Regions from separate parts of the Homo sapiens genome. Here all the other regions are linked to region 2. The links are contacts of gene promoters, found by promoter capture Hi-C in blood cells and fetal thymus (Javierre and others, 2016). All regions are on one chromosome and are shown on one strand. The core of a region is centred on a gene start or on the middle of the fragment in contact, and the rest is flanking DNA. Distances in the headings are between cores, read along the strand shown.

Region 1 (3,426 bases), core at 163-2,662, 300 kb after region 2:
GCAGAGCTGTAGCCAGGTCTCAAATGCAGGCTTTTCAACCCCCTGCTAGGTTGGCACCTTCATTTGAGCCCCTAGGGTGATGAGTGACTGAGGCCAAGCAGAATTCCCTGTTGCCTTTCGGCATTTGAGGAAGGATCCATGCCTCTGCCCTGCATGAGCCCACAGCTGAGATCTTCCACAGCTTGAGCATCTACTACATACAACGCACAGTCTCCTGGGTGTGCAGAATTTATTGAGCACCTGCTGTTTGCAGAGCCCTTGATGAAGCATACTTGAGGCAGGCGCAAGAAGCCACAGTCCCCACCCTGGGGGGCTGTGGCTTCCTCTGCAATTTGCGGCCTTCCAGCCTGGCCTCCTTTCTCTTCCTCCACAAGCTTGTTCCTGCCCCAAAACCTTGGCCCTGGCTGTGGGCTTGGCGGGCATCTTGTGTCACCGTAATTCTTGCATGGCTAGCTACTTCTTATAGTTCAGGTCTCAGATCCTGTGTCACCTCCTCAGCCAGCCCATCTCAGACAACCCTAAGAAGTGGTCCCTCTGCCCCAGTCACCTCTGTCACATCATTCTAACTTTTTTTTTTTTTCCTGTTCTTTGGAGCAGTTAGTATGTCATTCATTTAGTTAATATTTTAGGTGCTTCTCTCCCCTAAAGGCAGAGATTTTATTTTATCATGTTCACTGCTGTCTCCTAGTGCCTAGGTGTCCAGTAAATAATACTGTGGTAGGCCTGGCACAGTGGCTCATGCCTGTAATCCCAGCACTTTGGGAGGCTGAAGTGGGCGGATCACCTGAGGTCAGGAGTTCGAGACCAGCCTGGCCAACATGGTGAAACCCCCGCCTCTACTAAAAATACAAAATTAGCTGGGCATGGTGGTGCACGCCTGTAATCCCAGCTACTTGGGAGGCTGAGGCAGGAGAATCACTTGAACACGAGAGGCGGAGGCTGCAGTGAGCCGAGATTGGGCTACTGCACTCCGGCCTGGGTGACAGAGCAAGACTCCATCCCCAAATAGTAGTAGTAGTAGTAGTAGTAACAATAATAATAATAATAATAATAATGTGGTTGACTTAAGGGAGGGAGAGAGACGTGGTTGTTTGAGAAGGTGCTGGTTGTCCACTGTGGCTGTACCACTGCCCCTCGCCCAGGGAGCCCTCTGGCCCAGCAGGTGGCCCTGCTGTAAGTTTCCTTGTAGGGATGGGACCAGCCTTTGGGCAGAACCCTCTGAGAACCGCCGCTCCCTGCCTTCCCCTCAGGCCGGTTCTCAGAACCCATTGAAGCCTTGTTTGGGGCAAGTTCTCACCTCTCAGATCAGGACCCCTTCGGCCTCTGCATCTGTTGTCTGCATGTCTGGTGACCCACTCTCCATGGATGGTCGTTTCCTTGGGAAACCTGGACCTAATCCTCCCAGGAGGTGGCATTGAGGAGGACATGGGAACCAAGGATGAGTCCTTGTGTAACAGGGCAAGAGGTGCAAGCTAGAGTCCCTAATCTCCCCTACTCCACTTTACAAACCATATGCACTATTTATACATTTTCTTCTGTGTACAAAATTAAACATAGACTTTATAAAAACAAAAAAAATTCGGCAAGGAATGTCAAAGTTCCCTATAATTTCCCATTGCAGGGAGAAAACTGCTGTTTAGAGGTTGGTTTATATTTCTCTAGAATTGTAGCTCCTGATAAAAATGAGTTGCCAGGCACAGTGGCTCATGCTTGTAATCTCAGCACTTTGGAAAGCCCGGGGTGGGGGGGCGGATCACTTGAGGTCAGGAGTTCAAGACCAGCCTGGCCAACATGGTAAAACCCATCTCTACTAAAAATACAAAAATTAGGCAGGCATGGAGGCGGGTGCCTGTAGTCCCAGCTACTCAAGAGGCTGAGGCAGAGGAATTGCTTGAACCTGGGAGGCAGAGGTTGCAGTGAGCCAAGATCGTGCCACTGCAGTCCAGCCTGGGCAACAGCCTGGGCAATAAAATATAAAATAAAATGAAAGCAAACATTGCCTGGCTCCTTTTTGCATCAATAAGTTTAATTCACAGACTGAGCCTGAGACCCTCTTTATGCAGGTAAAGAAACTGAGGCACAGAGAGGTGAAATTCAGAAATGTTCCCAAATTCACAGTTTTACTGTAAGGCATAGTCTAAGTTGCTTAGCAAACAGACCCACAAAATATGTGTGGACACGAAATGGTTTCTTTTTCACTTGTGTGGAGGTCTTGCATTGGTGGGTGGCTTGGGGTAGGCTTGTTTGTGCCTCATCTCCTTGAAGCCATCTAGAGAACTCGTTCCTTTGGTCTTTTTTCTCTGCCATCCCCTCAGGGGTTTGCCATGGACCACATAATCAATTCTGGCTCCCAAGCAGAGTCCACCTTACAGGGCAGGCTGGAGTTACATCATTGCAATGCTCACTTCCCATTGGCTGGGCACAGTCATGTGGCCACACTTAGCTGCAAGGGAAGCTTAGCAATGTCATCCCTAGTGGGTGGCTGTGTACCCTTTTAAAACTCAAAGGAAAACAGAGCTGAGCACAGTGGCTGCAGCTTGTCATCCTAATGCTCTGGGAGGATGCTGGAAGACAAGAGGATTGCTTGAGGCCAGTTCTTGAGGCCAGTTCAAGACCAGCCTAGGCAACATAGTGAGACCTCGTCTCTATAAAAAAATTTAGATATGAGCCATGTGTAGTGACACACGCCTGTAGTCCTAGCTTCTCGGGAGGCTGAGGTGGGAGGATCACTTGAGCCCAGAAGTATGAGGCTGTAATGAGCCATGATTATGACACTGCACTCCAGCCTGGGCGACAGAGTGAGACCCTGTCTCTAAAATAAATTTTTTTTTTTTTAAGACGGAGTCTCACTCTGTCATCCAGGCTGGAGTGCAGTGACATGATCTTGGCTCACTGCAACCTCTGCCTCCTGGGTTAAAGTGATACTCCTGCCTCGACACCCTGAGTAGCTGGGATTTTTGGTACGCACAAGCACGCCCAGCTAATTTTTGTATTTTTATTTTATTAATTTTTTTTTTGAGACGGAGTTTTGCTCTTGTTGCTCAGGGCTGGAGTGCAGTGGTGCAATCTTGGCTCACTGCAACCTCTGCCTCCCAGGTTCAAGTGATTCTCCTGCCTCAGCCTCCAGAGTAGCTGGGATTACAGGCATGTGCCACCATGCCTGGCTAATTTTGTATTTTTGGTAGAGACAGGGTTTCACCATGTTGGCCACGGTTGGTCTCCAACTCCTGGCCTCAGGTGATCCACACACCTTGGCCTCCCAAAGGGCTGGGATTACAGGTGTGAGCCACCATGCCCAGCCTTAATTTTTGTATTTTTAGTAGAGGCAGGATTTCACCATGTTGGCCAGGCTGGTCTCGAACTCCTAACCTCAACTGATTCACCTGCCTCAGCCTCCCAAAGTGCTGGGATTACAGATGTAAGCCA
Region 2 (3,273 bases), core at 681-3,180:
AGTGTGGAGACTTTTGTGTTCCTCCTACCTGACCTGAACTGTTGAATGATGAAGTTACAATGATTGGACTCAGGGGTGCAGCTAGCTAACTTGGGAATTGGGGTTTTGAAGTACTGGAGACAGCTTTGTATGCCATGTTAATGAATTTGAATTTTATCCTGAAAAACGTGGCTGTCGTTGAAGAATTTTAAGCAGGCAGGTGGCTTGATCAGAGCACTGCTTCCCAGATTTCACTCAATGGTACCTGTATAACACATTCATGATTTTTGCTGTATCTCCGTATCATCAAGTTACTTAACGTTTTTACACCAACTTTTATTATTTTATAAATGTACTTAAAGAGGAAATTCACTACTAGCATTGCTTGCCATAATCAAAATAAATATATTATTAAAATGGAACAGTGCTAAATAAGGTGTACACATGGACATAGAGTGTGGAATGACAGACAATGGAGACTCCGAAAGGTGGAGGGGTGGGAGAGAGGTGAACGATGAGAAAGTACTTAATGGGTACCATGTACATTATTCGGGTGATGGGTACACTAAAAGCCCAGACTTCACCATTACTGCAATATATCCATATAACATAACTGTACTTGCGCCCCTTAAATTTATACAAATTTTTAAAAGGAAAAAATGGAAGTGTTCATCTATGTACCAACTTAAAATCATCTCACGCACCACTAGTGTTAAATCTACCACATGTGGGGAAACTGTGTGGTATGAATTGGGTTGAGGGCGTCCCCAGCAGGCACAGAAATTGGGTTGGTGCCAGGTTCTTAATGCCCAGATCTTAATTAGAGAGCCCAAGTCCGTTGTAGGCCTGGAGCAATTCAGACACAAGGCAAAAAGAAAGTACATTTGCCTATGCCTTGTAACGTCTACACCACCAGCCTTTCTGAAACTATTGTGCATACGAAGTCATCCCAGGATCTTGTAAAAACACCGATTCGGATCCAATATGGGACCTGGAGTTCATACATTTCTAATCAACTCCTAAATGATATTGATGCTGATACTGTCGGTTTCCCAACCAAGCAACGTAGCAAGGTACGAAACTCTAAAGTCCCTAAAGGGCAGGGACCACGCCTCTCGCGTTGGCATAGTGCCTAGCTCAAGGCACTTTCTGGGTTAACACTCGCTGAGGACCGGAGTGAACGCCCCCGCCCCAAGTCGTCACGTGACTGACTTTCTCCAACTGCCGGTTTCGGCTCACATAACACACCTACTATCCAAAACATTTCTATTTTCCTAACACAAAAACTATAGCTAAGTTTTTATATTCTATGTAGCCCCAGCCTAGGACGTAAATTCCACGAGACCAAAAGCCTTGTGATGATTCCCCGAGGTTGCTGACCCTCCCGGTGTGTCCCGGGCCTGCTCTGGGGGACACAGCGGCGAATACGTTGAACGAGGCCCCTGTTTCACGGAGCTAAAGATCCAGTAAGGACTTCACCCAGCGAGAGGCAACTACGCCGGGCTTCGATACCCAATACCTCTGCAGAAAGGTGGAGTGGCAGGAATCTCCTGAAGCCTCCAACGTCCAGGAACGCGGAAACCCAGGGCCTCCAGTGCAGGTGTCATCCCGGAGGGCGCATGCGGAGTCCCAAGAGAGGCGCGTCCCATTGGACAATGCTGAGCGGAAGAGCCCAAGATAGCGGGGGGAGTTGTGACAGGCTGCTGCAGACGTACTTAGAAAAGGGGTGCATACTGGATATTCAGGCTAGGAGAAGAACGCAAAAAGCAGTGACGTACATTATTCTCTGCATATATTTACTTGGGAAATTGTGCGTCTCCCTATTCTGAGTCTTGGAGGAATTGGACTGGTCCAACCTTATAAAGAGAGCAGTAGAGCGCGGCAGTATAGAGAGTACCTCACGAAGGGGACGTGGGAAAGTGTTAGCGGGGAACGCTGGGAAACTCCCGGCCTCCGCCACCATCTTGCTTTCCTTTAATCCGGCAGTGACCGTGTGTCAGAACAATCTTGAATCATGAAGCTACTAACCAGAGCCGGCTCTTTCTCGGTGAGCTCAGGTGGCGGGTTTGGGAAAGGGCTGGGGAGCAGTGTGTCGACAAGGTGATACGAGGCGGAGGTGTCTGGTCTGGGGTCTGGGCCTTGGGATTCGGTCTGCCCTTCAGCTGAACCCTGCGGGCCAAGTGGGCTGCAGACTGGGTCAGGCTTTGGAGGCCCAGCTCATGCTGTGAGCACAAGAGACCTAACACCGGGAAACCTGAAGAGAGGGGCAGGACGTGAGAGCGGAGTTGAAGCGAGTCCTTGGAGAGACTTCTGAAGGTCACTCCGGTACTCAAGTGCTGGAGAAAGAGACCGTGAAACCCAGGGGGAGCGGGAGGACGGCGCACTTAGCCCCCCACCTTCACTTTATCCGCTGCAGCCTCTGCTCCTTGGTTTATCACGGAGCGTCAGTTTCCCCAGCGAATAAAAGTATAAGAAAGGAGCTAATGCAGATAGAACACTTATTACAGTACCTGGAACTTCATTGTTAAATACTATGGTGTCTTAGTAGTCTAACGTTGCTTTTCTTGATCGTATGTTAGACGGTTCCTCCAAGACGTCTCTGTTTGTCCTCAAAAGCTCCTTAATTAAGTTTCCCCTTCAAGCCTAAATTAAACATAGCTGTCACTTGGGGAAAACTCACACATCAGGGTTATATCACTGTGGGACAGTGGTTATTAAGAGGGGTAAGGGGGAACACTTAAAAAATCATAGCGAGGGACAGAATGCCCCCAGGGAACCGGTGGCGATGTTTGGAGACATATTTAGTTGCAACAACTTGTAAGGAGGGTGCTATTGGCATGGAGAGGCCAGGGATGCTGCTAAACTTCGCCTTACAGCAAAGAATTATCTAGCCCCAAGTGCCAGTAGTAGTACCTGTGTTGAGAAACCCCCCTAGATGGAGATGCAGAAGACCAGACCTGGGCATGGAATGTTCTTATGCTTTATGTTTACATAAATGTGCTGTGGGCTATATCGATTTAGGCTGTAATTGCATTAACCTTCCAGGTATACCTAGACACACCAGTGATTACCCTTGGAGGGAAGCACGGTTAGATTGGCAAAAGACCCCAACATTTCCTTCTCCATTCTATTTTGCAACAGAAAAAGCTCAGAGAAAACAGTTGGAGAGGCCCAAAGTAAACAAATTGCAGTAAACTTGAAAGCAATTATTTATGTGTCTAATTTTAGCACTTTATATAGGAGAATAAACTTAGATATATCTTGTTATTAGAACAAAATAATTTAGAAGATTGC
Region 3 (3,648 bases), core at 286-2,785, 390 kb before region 2:
AATCACTTGAACCCAGGAGGTGGAGGTTGCAGTGAGCCAAGATTGTGCCACTGCACTCCAGCCTGAGTGACAGAGCAAGACTCTGTCAGAAAAAAGAAAGAAAAGAGAGAGAGAGAAAGGAAGAGGGGAAGGGAAGGAAGGGAAGGAAGGAAGAGAGAGAGGAAGGAAGGAAGAGAGAGAGAGGAAGGAAGGAAGGAAAAGGAAGGAAGGAAGGGAACAGAAGATTAGTTGAGCATAGTGGCTCAGTGCCTGTAATCCCAGCACTTTGGGAGGCCGAGGTAGGCAGATCATTTGAGCCTAGGAGTTCAAGACCAGCCTGGGAAACATGGCAAAATCCCATCTCTACAAAAAATAGAAAAATTAGCTGGGCATTGTGGCATGCATCTGTAGTCCCAGCTACTTGTGGGGCTGATGCAGGAGGGTCACTTGAGCCCAGGAGGCAGAGGTTGCAGTGAAGTATGATTATGCCACTGCACTCCAGCCTAGGTGGCAGAGTGAGACTCTGTCTCAAAAAAAAAAAAAAAAAAAAGAAGATTGTGAGCAAAAATTGAATGCAATTTTTTTCATAAGCAGAGGTGTAATGGTTATTATTACAAAAGATGATATTAAATTTATTTATGTATTATCTCTTTGCCTCCACCAGAATGTAAGCTTTGTTGAAGGCAAGGATCATTGTTGATTTATTTACTCTGTATCCCAGGCATCTAAAACAGTAAGTGTGCAATAAATATTTGTTGAATGAATCAAAGCATAAGCAAGGCTTCAGATTCATTTTTCTATCAGAGATTCATTTAAAAATGTTAAGGAAATGAGAGGTGAAGACATCCTAAAGGCATAATACTCAAAGTAGTCAGTAGGTTCATTGATAACCCAGAGGAAAATATATAATATTATAGAGGAAAAGAAATTCTCTGAAATCATGGCATCTCTCCTAGCTTGGGATAACATTTTAGCAGAAAGACCGAAGAACTCTTCCAAGAAACATCAAGCAATTAAATGAAGTAGTAGAAAAATCACCAGTACTTTAAAGTAGATGAAGCCATTAAAATAGTTGCAGCTTCAGTAATCACCATGTAAGCCTGTAAGTGGTGGGTCTTAGACCACAACATGGTAGTTATCAAATTGCTTTATTCATCGAAATGTTCATTCTCCTGGCTGCCCTTGAACTTCCAGCCTAAGGCTTTCTCTCTGCAGGGTTGTCAGCATGCTCATGCAAGGCTTTGCCTCTGCAGATTATCAGAGGTGTACTCCATGCCCCTCTCACCATGAAAAAAGGGAGAAAAAGACAATTTCGTCTCAGAGATAGAAAATCTCCCAGAGAGAACCCCTGGCAGCTGGAATCCATTTTTTTCCCCCTGAAGCTGGAATCTGTTATAACTACAGAACACTGAAGGATAATGAGGTTCTGCTGCTAAGCAAATGCTGGGACAAAAAGCACAGAGGTGCTGCAGCCAGGCAGAGACTGGGCTTTTCATGAAACCCTGTGTCTCTGAGCACATATTGCAATAATTCTCTGACTAGCTGCTCAAGGCCTTGGCTTCGTGGCTTTTTACTCCGTTTAAAGGTCTTGATCAGGCCACTTCCGTTTTTAATGTTTGAGAAATGTCTGATTTATGCTGCTTCAAAGTGGAACTTGGGTTTCTATTACCTTTTTGGCACCTTGCACCCATTGTTGGCCTAATTCTGCTGTCTCGTCTATCTTGTGGTTCCTATCAGTAAACAAAGTCCAGGAGAGGCGTCATGCTTGTGAACACCTCCAACATCAAGTTCAAAAGTACAATCATGACCTTGTCCTGTCGTTCTCAGAATCTGGGCTCAGCTATTTCAAACCTCCCATGTCTTCACTGGTAGTGGTCAATTAGAAATCACTGAATCCTTTCCCTAGAGTGGTCAGAGACAGCCAGTTTATGGTAATTTGGGCACAAGTGCCAATTGGAAAGGTGCATTATTCAAACCACTTTGGCTACAAGTGACAGAAATTCAATGCAGGTTAGCTTAAATAAAAAAGGAATTCGGGCTGGGAACAGTGGCTCATGCCTATAATCCCAGCATTTTGGGAGGCCGAGGCGGGTGGATCACCTAAGGTCAGAAGTTCTAAACCAGCCCGGGCAACACGGTGAAACCCTGCCTGTACTATAAATACAAAAAATTAGCCAGGCATGGTAGTGCACGCCTGTAGTCCCAGCTACTCTGGAGGCTGAGGCAGAAGAATCACTTGAACCCGGGAGGTGGAAGTTGCAGTGAGCCAAGATCACGCCACTGTACTCCAGCCTGGGCGACAGTGAGACTCTGTCTCAAAAAAAAAGAAAAAAAGAAAAAAAAGGGAATTTATTGGCTTCTGTAGCTGAAAAGTCAGGCAGATTTGGATCTCAAATTATGTCATTAACTAGTTTCTCTGACTTACCCTCTGCGTTGTGTATAAGCTTTTCATCGCATGGCAGCAAGATACCTCCATGTTCACATAGGGCTAACAGCCCAAGATGGTGAGGAAACATGCACTTTTGTTCCAGTAGCACAGAAAAAGTCCCCAGGTGGACGCTAATGGGCACTGTATGAGTCAAGTGCTCATGGCTGAGGCAGTAGTTGTACCTTGACACATGAAGTCCTCTGACCAGATCTGGGCATGTACCTGACCTTGGGGATGGAAGTGAGGCAGTCCAGCTCCACCAACTCGTAAGGACTGAGACAGTTTACTAGGGAAGAGGGGAAAGCGTGTTTCTTACAGGAAGAAATGCGGGCAGACAAAACACCATATACCCCTTAAATTAGGTTTTCCACAGATAATTGAGGTGGAGCAGAAGGGTAACCACATTTTGACAGCATCATCAGTATGTGGTGAGTGGCCCAGCATTTGACCCTGGCCTCTGTGGTCATCTCAGAGCCCAGAAAGTAGCAGCAGAAGAGCAGAGCATGGGTAGGTAACCATCAGTTCTTGGATAACTGAAGGGTGATCTTGAGGAGCAGTGAGTCTGTGGGATGGCCATGCCTAACAAATGTCATCCAGTTCAGAGCACCAAGGACATTCCCAGCTATGGCTTTTATCTTTTATCTTCTTCTTCTTCTGGTTTTGCTCTGTCACCCAGGCTGGAGTGTAGTGGCATGATCTCGGCTCACTGCAACCTCTGCCTCCCAGGTTCAAGCAATCCTCCCACCTCAGCCCCCTGCGTAGCTGGGACTGCAGCTGAGCGCCACTACACCCAGCTAATTTTTGTATGTTTTGTAGAGATGGGGTTTCACCATGTTGATCATGCTGGTCTTGAAGTCCTAGGCTCAAGCAATCTGCCTGCCTTGGGCTCCCACAATGTTGGGATTACAGGCATAAGCCACCATGCCTGGCTCCAGCTGTGGCTTTTAGAGGAGGAGGTAGTGGTGGCCGGAGGTTTTGCACATGATTCTAGGCAGAACCCTCCTAGTTAATGCCTACTTGTCCTTTAGAACTCAGCTCAAATATTTCCTCTGGGGAGCATTCTCTGGCCTCCACTTGCCCAGCATGAGCCAGACCCTCTAACAATGAGCTCTCATTTAATACCTTGTTTTTCTATCATAGCACTTTCTACAGTCATCTTATATAATCATGTGTAAATCAAACTTATGACTATTTAAATAAGACCTATCTCGCACACTAGGAGGTAGGTAGGCTCCATGAAG
Region 4 (3,621 bases), core at 862-3,361, 280 kb before region 2:
TGGAGTGCTGTGGCATGATCATAGCTCACTGCAGCCTTGAATTCTGGAGCTCAAGAGATCCTCCCATCTCAGCCTCCTGAGTGGCTAGGACTACAGGTGTGCATCACCACGCCAGGCTAAATTTTAAATGTTTTTATAGAGATGGAGTCATGCTGTGTTGCCCAGGCTGGTCTCAAACTCCTGGCCTCAAACAATCCTCCGCCTTGGCCTCCCAAAACACTGGGATTAGGTGTGAGCCACTGTGCCTGGCCTAATTTTTTATTTTATTTTATGGTATTTTTTGTTTGTTTGCTTTGTTTCTTTCTTTTTTTTTTTTTTTTTGGAGACAGAGTTTCACTCTTGTCATCCAGGTTGGAGTGCAATGGGATGATCTCGGGTCACTGCAACCTCTGCCTCCCGGGTTCAAGAGATTCTCCTGCCTCAGCCTCCCGAGTAGCTGGGATTATTAGCATGCGCCACCATGCCCAGCTAAGTTTTTGTATCTTTAGTAGAGATGGGTTTTCACCATGTTGGTCAGGCTGGTCTCAAACTCCTGACCTCAAGTGATCTGCCCGCCTCGGCCTCCCAAAGTGCTGGGATTACAGGTGTGAGCCACCGTGCCCAGACATGACGTGTTTGAATCAGGATCCAAATAAAGTCTAGATTCTACAAGTGATCAATCTTTTGTTTTTGAGTTAATAGGTTCTCTTTCTCTCTCTCTCTGTAATATATTGGCTAAAGAAACTAGGTTGTTTGTTTTGGGGAGTTTTCCACAGTCTTGATTTCTCTGGCTGCACCTAGTCTACTCAACGTCTTGGCAATGGGGGTGCCATGGGTCTCAGTCCTTAAAACTCACCTAATTTCTCCGTAAATTTACTTTCTTGGTGATATCATTCAGGGTTTAAATACATGCTGACTATCTGGGGCCGGGTGCAGTGGGATTACATGCCTGTAATCCCAGCACTTTGGGAGCCTGTGTCAGGTGGATCCCTTGAGGTCATGAGTTTGAGACCAGCCTGGCCAACATGGTGAAACCCCGTCTCTACTAAAAATACAAAAATTAGCCGGTGCGGTGGCACAAGCCTGTAATCCCAGCTACTCGGGAGGTTGAGACACAAGAATCACTTGAACCTGGGAGGCAGAGGTTGCAGTGAGCTGAGATCGTGCCACTGCACTCCAGCGTGCGTGACAGAGTGAGACTCTGTCCCCCACCCCAAAAAAACCCCCAAAACAGAAGAACAAACAAAAAAGCAAACACAAAAAACCACTGACTATCTCTGTTTAGATAGCTGCTTCTGACAGCACCTCTCCCCTAACCTGCAGGCTCAAACATCAAACTGCCTACTTGCTATGCTATCTGCACTCTAAAAGGCTTCTCAAGCTTAGTATGTCCAAAACTGAGCTCCAGGGATCCTTCCCTAAACTTGGAACTCCTATGGTTTTCCCATCTCCCTCTCTACATGCTCAGGCCAAATCCTTGGCGTTGTCTTTGACCTGTCTATTTCTTTTATTCCCTACATTCGATCTTTTGGTTCCGCCTTCCAAATACCTCCAAAATCCAACCACTTCTCACCACCTTCACTGCTATCAATGACCAAGTTATTGTCATCTCTTTCCTAGATTGGTCTGCCTGCTACAGCCATTGTTCCACTCCAGGGTATTCTCAACACAGCAATCAATGTGCTTGATCCAGTTAAAATAAAAGTCAGGGCCAGGCACAGTGGCTCACACCTGTCATCCCAGAGCTTTGGGAGGCTGAGGTGGGTGGATCACTTGAGCTTAGGAGTTCGAGACCAGCCTGGCCAACAGGGTGAAATCTCGTCTCTACCAAAAATATAAAAATTAGCTGGGTGTGGTGGTGGGCACCTATAATCCCAGCTACTTGAGAGGCTGAGGCAGGAGAATCACTTGAGCCGGGGAGGCAGAGGTTGCAGTGAGCTGAGATTGTGCCACTGCACTCTAGCCTGGGCGACAGAGTGAGACACCATCTCAAACAAAACAAAACAAAAACAAAAACAAGTCAGAGCATCCATCCTGGCTAATATCCCTTCAGTGGCTCCCACCTCCCTCCAAGTAAAAGTCAGAGCGCTCACAATGGCCTGAAAGACCCTACTCACTCTGGCCCTGATACCTCTCCAACCCCATGTCCTACTGTTATATCCTCTTCGTGCAATTTACTGAAGAACATGCAAATTATGCTCCTAATATCAAAGCCTTTGCACTGTCATTTTCTTTTCTTTCTGGAACTTTCTTTCTCCAGATATTCCCGTGGTTCATTCCTTCACTTCCTGAGGTCTCTGCTTAAATGTCACCTCCTCAGGTCTTCCCTGACCAAACTGTCTATAATAGTACCTGCTCCTTCTTTGGCTCCTTTTTCCTACCCTGTTGTATTTTTCTCCATGGCACTCATCACTCCCTGACATAATATAGTTATTTGATTATCTATTTTCTGCCTGGTTCATTCCAACACACCAGCAGGGAGTTAGTTTTGTAAACTGCTGTATTCTCAGAGCATAGAATAATGCCTGGCTCACAGCACTACTCAACAAATATTTGAAGAATGAAAGCATGAAATAATTACACAAACATAAATATGTATTATAGCTGTGCTTGGTGCTATAAAAGAGAAGTATTGGCCTTTTCTTCTGGCTAATTGCTTTGGCCTGGTCAGAGAATTCAGGGAAGGCTTCATTGAAGACTTGAAATTTACAATGAATTGATCTTAGCCGGGCAAAGAGGAAGGGGAAGAATCCTCTGGGCCGAGGAACAGCCTGTGAGAGGGTCTTAATCTGGGGAGGATAGCACCTTGGAGGGACAGACAGATGGCCCGGGCAGGAACCTTGGGGAATGAGGGGCAAAGAGGAGGGTGATACAGCCACTGGAAAAGCTTTGGGCTTTATCTTGAGGGTAATGGGGAGAGGCGGAGGGTGACATGAGTTTATTGAGATGGTGTTTTTCAAAACAGCATCTGTTTGAAAACAGCAATCTGGTTTCTTTGCTTATTTAATAAACTTGTATACAGAGCTGACTTTGTGTCAAGCCCTGTTTGAAGTGATTCACTATTAACAACTCATTTTACCCTCATACGACACAGTGATGCTGGTACCATCATTAATCTCATTTTACAGACGAGAAAATTGGAGTGCAGAGAGATTAAGAAACTCGTCCAAGGCCGGGCTCAGTGGCTCACACCTGTAATCTCAGCACTTTGGGAGGCCAAAGTGGGTGGATCACTTGAGGTCAGGAGTTCGAGATCAGCCTGGCCAACATGGTGGGAGCCTGTCTCTACTAAAAATACAAAACTTAGCCTGGTGTGGTGGTGGGTACCTGTAATCCTAGCTACTCAGGAGGCTGAGGCAGAAGAATCGCTTGAACCTGGGAAGCAGAGGTTGCAGTGAGCCTACATTGCACCACTGCACTCCAGCCTGGGCAAGAGAGTAAGACTCCATATCAAAAAAAAAAAAAAGAAAAAAGAAAAAAGAAAAAAAAAAAGAAAGAAATATGTCCAACATTGCACAGCTAGTAAGTGGCGGAGACGTGATTCAGAACAGGTGACTGGCTCCACAGTCCATGCTTTTCCATTTCTGTTTGATACTGACTTTTGTGAGGTATAAATTTACAGGCAATACAATGCACACTAAG

The links. The method cuts DNA at HindIII sites, captures the fragments that hold promoters and counts their contacts. A CHiCAGO score of 5 or more calls a contact.
Region 1: a contact is called between a fragment that was not itself captured here and the fragment with the promoter of UQCRC2 in region 2, in 1 of 17 cell types (naive CD8 T cells). The highest score is 5.7, in naive CD8 T cells.
Region 3: a fragment that was not itself captured here is called in contact with the fragment with the promoter of UQCRC2 in region 2 in 3 of 17 cell types (M2 macrophages, neutrophils and total CD4 T cells); the score reaches 7.3 in M2 macrophages.
Region 4: a fragment that was not itself captured here is called in contact with the fragment with the promoter of UQCRC2 in region 2 in 1 of 17 cell types (M1 macrophages); the score reaches 5.0 in M1 macrophages.

Annotation. Positions count from the first base shown.
Region 1 is chr16:22,253,097-22,256,522 of GRCh38, forward strand. The region is part of intron 6 of EEF2K (eukaryotic elongation factor 2 kinase); the gene reads left to right. Among named protein-coding and RNA genes, the nearest start is that of TRL-AAG2-4, 42 kb to the right of the region's middle. The HindIII fragment of the contact is 2,081 bases long and covers 373-2,453 here.
Region 2 is chr16:21,951,431-21,954,703 of GRCh38, forward strand. UQCRC2 (ubiquinol-cytochrome c reductase core protein 2) reads left to right here and starts at 1,931. Exons shown (of 14, transcript NM_003366.4): 1 at 1,931-2,026. The coding sequence starts at 1,994. RefSeq lists enhancers at 1,264-1,723, 1,812-2,529, 2,044-2,213, 2,224-2,273. The HindIII fragment of the contact is 11,485 bases long and covers 1-3,273 here.
Region 3 is chr16:21,564,432-21,568,079 of GRCh38, forward strand. No RefSeq gene overlaps it. Among named protein-coding and RNA genes, the nearest start is that of METTL9, 33 kb to the right of the region's middle. The HindIII fragment of the contact is 1,772 bases long and covers 650-2,421 here.
Region 4 is chr16:21,668,156-21,671,776 of GRCh38, forward strand. All of the region lies in intron 1 of OTOA (otoancorin), which reads left to right. Among named protein-coding and RNA genes, the nearest start is that of OTOA, 6.0 kb to the left of the region's middle. The HindIII fragment of the contact is 1,506 bases long and covers 1,359-2,864 here.